2 separate regions of the Homo sapiens genome follow, and region 1 is linked to region 2. The links are contacts of gene promoters, found by promoter capture Hi-C in blood cells and fetal thymus (Javierre and others, 2016). All regions are on one chromosome and are shown on one strand. The core of a region is centred on a gene start or on the middle of the fragment in contact, and the rest is flanking DNA. Distances in the headings are between cores, read along the strand shown.

The links. The method cuts DNA at HindIII sites, captures the fragments that hold promoters and counts their contacts. A CHiCAGO score of 5 or more calls a contact.
Region 1: a contact is called between a fragment that was not itself captured here and the fragment with the promoter of ZSCAN2 in region 2, in 2 of 17 cell types (activated CD4 T cells and naive CD8 T cells). The highest score is 6.8, in activated CD4 T cells.

Annotation. Positions count from the first base shown.
Region 1 is chr15:84,766,818-84,770,355 of GRCh38, forward strand. All of the region lies in intron 2 of ZNF592 (zinc finger protein 592), which reads left to right. Among named protein-coding and RNA genes, the nearest start is that of ZNF592, 20 kb to the left of the region's middle. RefSeq lists an enhancer at 1-272. The HindIII fragment of the contact is 3,788 bases long and covers 83-3,538 here.
Region 2 is chr15:84,599,311-84,602,444 of GRCh38, forward strand. ZSCAN2 (zinc finger and SCAN domain containing 2) reads left to right here and starts at 1,699. Exons shown (of 3, transcript NM_181877.4): 1 at 1,699-1,825. It overlaps LOC105370947 (a long non-coding RNA gene), which reads right to left. Exons shown (of 4, transcript NR_186225.1): 4 at 124-493. RefSeq lists an enhancer at 1,547-1,596 and a silencer at 1,917-2,066. The HindIII fragment of the contact is 3,007 bases long and covers 1-2,319 here.

The sequences.
Region 1 (3,538 bases), core at 727-3,226, 170 kb after region 2:
GTGGTGATCTAAGGCAACCATAGGGATGCCTCTAAGAGTAATAGCATGCTCCTCGTGTCCCTCCAGACCTGTCAGTTTAGGAAGCTTTGGAACTGTAGGTTGTCTGTGGTAGATAAGACTGGTGGCACCCTCAAAACCACCAAAGAAAGAGTGATCCTGTGAAATGGCCACTTTCTGTTTTCTTTTTGTTTTTCCGAGATGGAGTCTCATTCCGTAGCCCAAGCTGGAATGCAGTGGCGTGATCTCGGCTCACTACAGCCTTCGCCTCTGGGGCTCAAGTGATTCTTCTGCCTCAGCCTCCCAAGTAGCTGGGACTAGAGGCGTACACCACCACACCCGGTTAATTTTTTTGTATTTTTAGTAATTTTTTTGTATTTTTGTAGAGATTTTTTGTATTTTTAGTTTCACCATGTTGCCTGGGTGGTCTCGAACTCCTGAGCTCAGGCGATCCGCCCGCCTCGGCCTCCGAAAGTGCTGGAATTACAGATGTGAGCCACCGTACCCGGCCAACACTGTTTTCTAGGGTCCTTTGCGTCGGAAGTTGAGGCTTGGTTCCCAGCAGGTCTGAGGCTGCTGGCTTCTTGCTTAAATTTAGGGGTCCCCACTACCAAGAGATGATGCATTTACAAAGTTTACTGGGAGGAACACACCAGGATGGTGTGTGAACAAGAGGAGTCCTGTCCCCCTTTTTCTCAAATCTCTGGGTCCTGTTTCCTTCTAACAAAGTGTGGTGCTAGGTTATTGCTGAGATCTGTTTGCAAAGAAGGAAAGGTAAAGGGGGTACGGGTTACAAAGTATCAGTTTGTATCTAAATTGTCAGCTCTGTGTAAACTGTGCTTGCTGCCTATGCCTAGTTTCTGCTTGTCCCAGTCAGTTTTATTGTCTTGTATAATCCCAGCTCCCTCCAGTTCTGTCTTTTTCTATCTTTTAAAAAATATAGCAGCTTTATTGAGATATAATTCACATGCCATACAATTTACCCATTTAAAGTGCACAATTCAATGGTATTTCAGTTTGTTCACGGACTTGTATTTTCTTTTTTTTTATTTGTTTCTTTTCTTTTCTTTTCTTTTTTTTGAGACAGGGTTTTGCTGTGTCACCTACCCTGGAGTGCAATGGTGCAATCACAGCTCACTGCAGCCTCAACCTCCCAGGCTCAAGCAATCCTCCCACCTCAGCCTTTTGAGTAGCTGGGACTACAGACATGTGCCACCACGCCCAGCTAATTTTAATTTTAATTTTAATTTTTTTTTTTTGTAGAGATGGGGTTTTGCCATGTTGCCCAGCTGGTATTGAACTCCTGGCCTCAAATGATCTACCTGCCTTGGCCTCACGCTTGGGATTACAGCCACGAGCCATAGTGCCTAGCCAGTATCTTCTTATCTTCTTTCCTTTTCTTTCTTTCTTTCTTTCTTTTTTTTTTTTTTTTTTTTGAGACAGTTGTGCTCTGTCGCCCAGGCTGGAGACTGGAGTGCAGTGGCGCGATCCCAGCTCACTACAACCTCTGCCTCCTGGGTTCAAGCGATTCTCCTGCCTTAGCCTCCCAAGTAGCTAGGATTACAGGTGTGCACCACCACACCTGGCTAATTTTTGTATTTTTAGTAGAGACAAGGTTTCATCATGTGGACCAGGCTGGTCTTGAACTCCTGACCTCAAGTCATCCACCTGTCTCAGCTTCCCAAAGTGCTGGGATTACAGGCATGAGCCACCGTGCCCAGCCTTTTGTGTCTTTTTTTCTTAAGACTCATTCCCACCCTGTACCTACCTCTTCCCTATGGTTCTCAGAGCTAGCCTTTTCTTTCCTCTGGTGTCACACTGATCCCATCCTCAAAACAAATGACCTTATGGGACATCGGCCAATAGGCACCCCCCACTGATAAAATATTTAATTTAATCAGCCATTACAGGGATCCAGGATTCATAGACAAGGGTACTTTAGGTAGACCCCTTCCCACTGGCGAGGTCCCATAACCACTGAAGGTCTCTCTAAAATTTTAAAAAGTGAAACAAAAATTTGCATATTTGCAAAATGTTTGATTCATAATAAGCCCACTTGGGAATCTGTGATTATCTTGAACAATCTTAATTCTGGACAAATGAGCTTGTCAAATTGTTCTTCCTCCTTTCTTTTATTTTTTTTTGAGACATGGTGTCCATCTGTTGCCCAGACTGGAGTGCAATAGCACGATCGTGGCTCACTGCAACCTCCACTTCCTGAGTTCAAGCAATTCTCCTGCCTCAGCCTCCTGAGTAGCTGGGATTACAGGTGTCCACCACCATGCCTGGCTAATTTTTGTATTTTTAGTAGAGACAGGGTTTCACCATGTTGGTGAGGCTGGTCTTGAACTCCTGACCTCAGGTGATCAGCCCACCTCTGCCTCCCAAAGTGCTGGAATTATAGGCATGAGCCACTGTGCCTGGCCTGTTCCTTCTTTCTAATGGTGGATTACCTTCCTGTAAACACACTGGAATTTACAGAAAGACAAGAAGGTAATGAACAATTACATAATATATGCTAGGTGGTGATAAGTGCTGGGAAGAAAATAAAGCAGTGTAAAGGGATAAAGATTGATGGTTGGGTTGGGGATTGGTGTCTCATGTAGAACGGTCATGGAAGGCTCCTGACAAAGTGACATTGGATTAAAGGCCTGAAGAAGTGAGGAAGTGAGCCCACCGAGATCTGGTGGGAGAATGTTTCAAGCAGAGGGAGTGGTGACTGCAGAGGCTCAGAATGGAGCATGACCAGCATGCCTGAGGAACGTAAGGAGGCCTTTGTGTGCCTGGACAGACTGGGTGAGAGAGAGGCATAGGAGATGGGGGCAGTGAGATCATCCCGGCTGTGGAGGCTGTGGGAAAGATGGGATTTCACTCTGAGGGAGATGGGATGGTGTTGAAGGGTTTTGAAGAGAGTAGGGACATGATGTGATGTGTGCTTTAAGATTTTTAAATTATCTTATTATTTTTTGAGATGGGGTCTCACTGTGTTGCCTAGGCTGGAGTGCAGTGGCTATCCTCAGGTGCATTCCTGGCTCACTGCAGCCTCAAATTCCTGGGCTCAAGTGATCCTCCTACCTCAGCCTCCTGAGTAGCTGGTACTACAGGCATGGGCCACTGTGCCCAGTGGCAACGTATGTTTCAAAAGCAATACTCTGGCTGCTGTGTTGGGAATGACTAGTAGAGGCAAGGGTGGAAGCAAGAAGATCAGTTGGCAGGCTTTTGTGGGAACACAGGAGAGAGATGATGGTAGAGGTGGTGAGAAATGGCTGGACTTGAATATATTTTGAAGGTTGAGTTGACAGGATGTGCTTGTGGATTGGATGAAGGGTGTGAAAGAAAGAGAGGTTTAGGCCTAAGCAGCTGGAAGAATGGCATTGTCATTTACTGAAATGCGGAAGGCTGTAGGAGGAAATCAAGAGCTAGATTTTAGACATAGTAGATCTGAGGTGCCTATTAGATATCCAAGTAGAGATCCAAATCTAGAAATAACAATAATTTAGTGAATGTCTACTGAGGGGCTTATAAAATAGCAGGAAAGAGA
Region 2 (3,134 bases), core at 449-2,948:
AAGAGGTTAATTAGTGAAAAACAGGTGAATTTCACATAATCTTTGGAGTGGTGCAGAGGACTTTCTAACACAAAACTCACAGGCTATAAAAAGATAAGATTAACAAATTTGACTGCAAAAAAATTTCAAATTTCTATATTTAATAAACCAGCAGAAAACAAACAGCAAACTGAGAAAGAGTAGCAACTGCTGTGACAAAGGGATAATTTTCTTAATATACAAAGAGCTCTTACAAATAAATCCAATTTAAAAATGGGAAAAGGACCGGGCACGTGGCTCATGCCTGTAATCTCAGCACTTTGGGAGGCCAAGACGGCTGGATCACCTGAGGTCAGGAATTCAAGACCAGCCTGATCAACATGGTGAAATCTCTGTCTCTACTAAAAACACGCAAAATTAGCCAGGTGTGGTGGCGCACGCCGGTAATCCCAGCTACTTGGGAGGCTGAGGCAGGAGAATCACTTGATCCGAGATCGTGTCACTGCACTCCAGCCTGGGCGACAGAGGAGGAAAAAAAAAAGCAGTCATTTCATTGCAGGTGCCTCCAGTAATTGCTCAGTGCAAACATACATAACTATTCTATCACAGACCATTAAGGGTGTCTCTCTCCATTTTTAGATTTTCCGCTTGAGTTTCCAGGTAGTTTCTCACCTGTTTTCAAGCAGGGTTGGGGCAGCCGTTTCTTCAACAGCGCCAGCCGTAAAACACAAAGATGGAGGCCAACCTCCCACACCCGGGCACCCTCCCTTCCCCCATACTGAGATTGACAAGTAAGCAACCCGGTGATCAGTACTAAAATGGAGACGTCAGCCAGGTGCGGTGGCTCACACCTGTAATTCCAGCACTTTGGGAGGCTGAGGAGGAAGGATCGCTTGAGCCCAGGGGTTCGAGGTCAGCCTGGGCAACATATGGAAACCCTGTCTCTATGAAATGTAGATCCTGTCTGTGAGTGTGTGTGTATAAATAAATATATATATATATATACAAATACATACATATATATATTTAAAAAATAAAATGGGGACGTCCAACACGTGTACTAGGGGCGGTGTCTCTGCCTGGGGAGGTGGTGATGACAGGGCAGGCTCCACCCAGGAGAAGCTGGAAGAATGGGAGTTCCGCGGCAGAGGAGGCGGGGCAGGGCGTTCCTCCAAACACAGGAATACCACGTGCGAAAACAAAGGGGTGTGCGAAGACCGGGTGCATGTGTACAGCTGCAAACTGGGGGAAAGGCGCCAGGCTTGGGCGATGAGGATTTGTTCCCCCATGGATTCCCTTCCTGCCCAGGGTCCGCTCTCGCCGGTCGAGGGTGCCTAACAATACTCCTTGCCACAAGGTTCGCAGCCGAAAAGGTCCTTCAAGTCCGGCCATCCAACTTTCACTTTTTATAGACAAATATACAGAGGCCTTAGATAAGTGAAACGGCTTGTCTCGGGTTACAGCTCTAGCCAACACAGGGTTTCTGACGGTCAGTCTGCGGATTTTCCTGCCTCTGGTCCGCAGGCACTGCCCAGGCTGTCAGCCCCAAACCCTACTCCGGGGACCGCGGTCAGGTTCGTCTCCGGGCGGACTACATCTCCCACAATGCCTTGGGCCCAGCCTCCCTCCTGCCGCCCGGCTGGGTGCCGTCTCCACCAACAGAAAGGCAGAATTTCCAGGGCCGTTCTCGGCAGCCAATGAGCGCGGCGGTGGGCGGGCCTCTCCCGTCCATTGTTCTCGGTGCCCCACGGGCTTGAGCCGGGGTGAATCTGGAGGGGCCGGGCCGAGCCCGGGGGCGCTTTCGCACGCGAAGCAACCGCTAGAGCAGGACCTGGTCTCCCGAGAGGTGAGCCGGAGAGGCAGGCCTGGAGCCACGCGGACCCCGGGCAGTAGCCCGAGGTGAGGGAATAGTGGGCCTGGAGCCAGCTGCCGGCAGCTCTGCTGGGGGAGGGGCGTCGGGGTCGCGCTCCGTATCCTGCGGGCCCTGCAGCCCCGATTTACGCGCCGGCTCCGCTCAGCGAACCGTCCCGGACGCGTCTCCCTGGCGGAGAGCTCCTTGCCTCTCCTACCGAGAAGCGCAGGCTTTGGACGGGAAGGGGCATTCGACGACATCCCGCGCAGCGTACACGTTTTACAGATGGGGAAACTGAGGTTCAGAGGGGGCGTGTCGTGCCCCAAGTCAGACCGCAAATTAGCTGACCTGGCACACTTTTCCCAGGCTCCCAAGTAGGAAGAGTTCTCTTACACCATATGCCAGTATTTCTTCTAGTCATTTGAGTAAATACACGTTGAGAGCTTCGGTTTTCCCACTAGCTTTTATTTTTTGTCCTTTTTTTTTTAAGCTTTTGTCAGCTTTTCTCCCCTTTTCATTGAGGGAGGGTTGTTAGTTGAGTCTTTATGATGTAGTAATGATTTTTTAAAAAATTTTTTTATTTTTGTAGAGACTGGGTCTCACTCTGTTGCCCAGGTTGGTCATGAACTCCCGGCCTCAAGCCATCTTCCCTCCTCGGCCTCCCAAAGTGCTGGAATTACAGGCGTGAGCTACAGCGCTTGGGCTAAAAATAATTTTGTATTGCTTTTATAATATTTTAAGTCGTTTGCAATTCCACTGCTTTCAATATTTTGTAGGTGCCGTCCCGTTCTTTTTTCCTGTGAGTTCATTTTTTTTTTTTTTTTTTTTTGAGACGGAGTTTTGCTTTTGTTGCCCAGGCTGGAGTGCAATGGCCTGATCTCCGCTCACCGCATCCTCTGCCTCCCGGGTTCAAGCGATTCTCCTGCCTCAGCCTCCGGAGTAGCTGGGATTACGGGCATGCGCCACCACGCCTGGCTAATTTTGTTTTTAGTAGAGACGAGGTTTCTCCGTGTTGGTCAGGCTGGTCTCGATCTTCCGACCTCAGGTGATCCGCCCGCCTCAACCTGCCAAAGTGCTAGGATTACAGGTCTGAGCCACCGCGCCCGGCTGTGAGTTCATTTTTAAAGGGAATTGAGGACTTACTGTGTCTATGGTTTTTCTGCCCTGCTGATTTTGTGTTTATCCATTATTTTCCTATCAGAAGGATTATCTTAAATCATTAATGATTAATCTTTGTCAATATAATTTTTAAAATATTAAAAACATACAGCGTAATGTGCAGATCTTAAATTTCATATGTTTG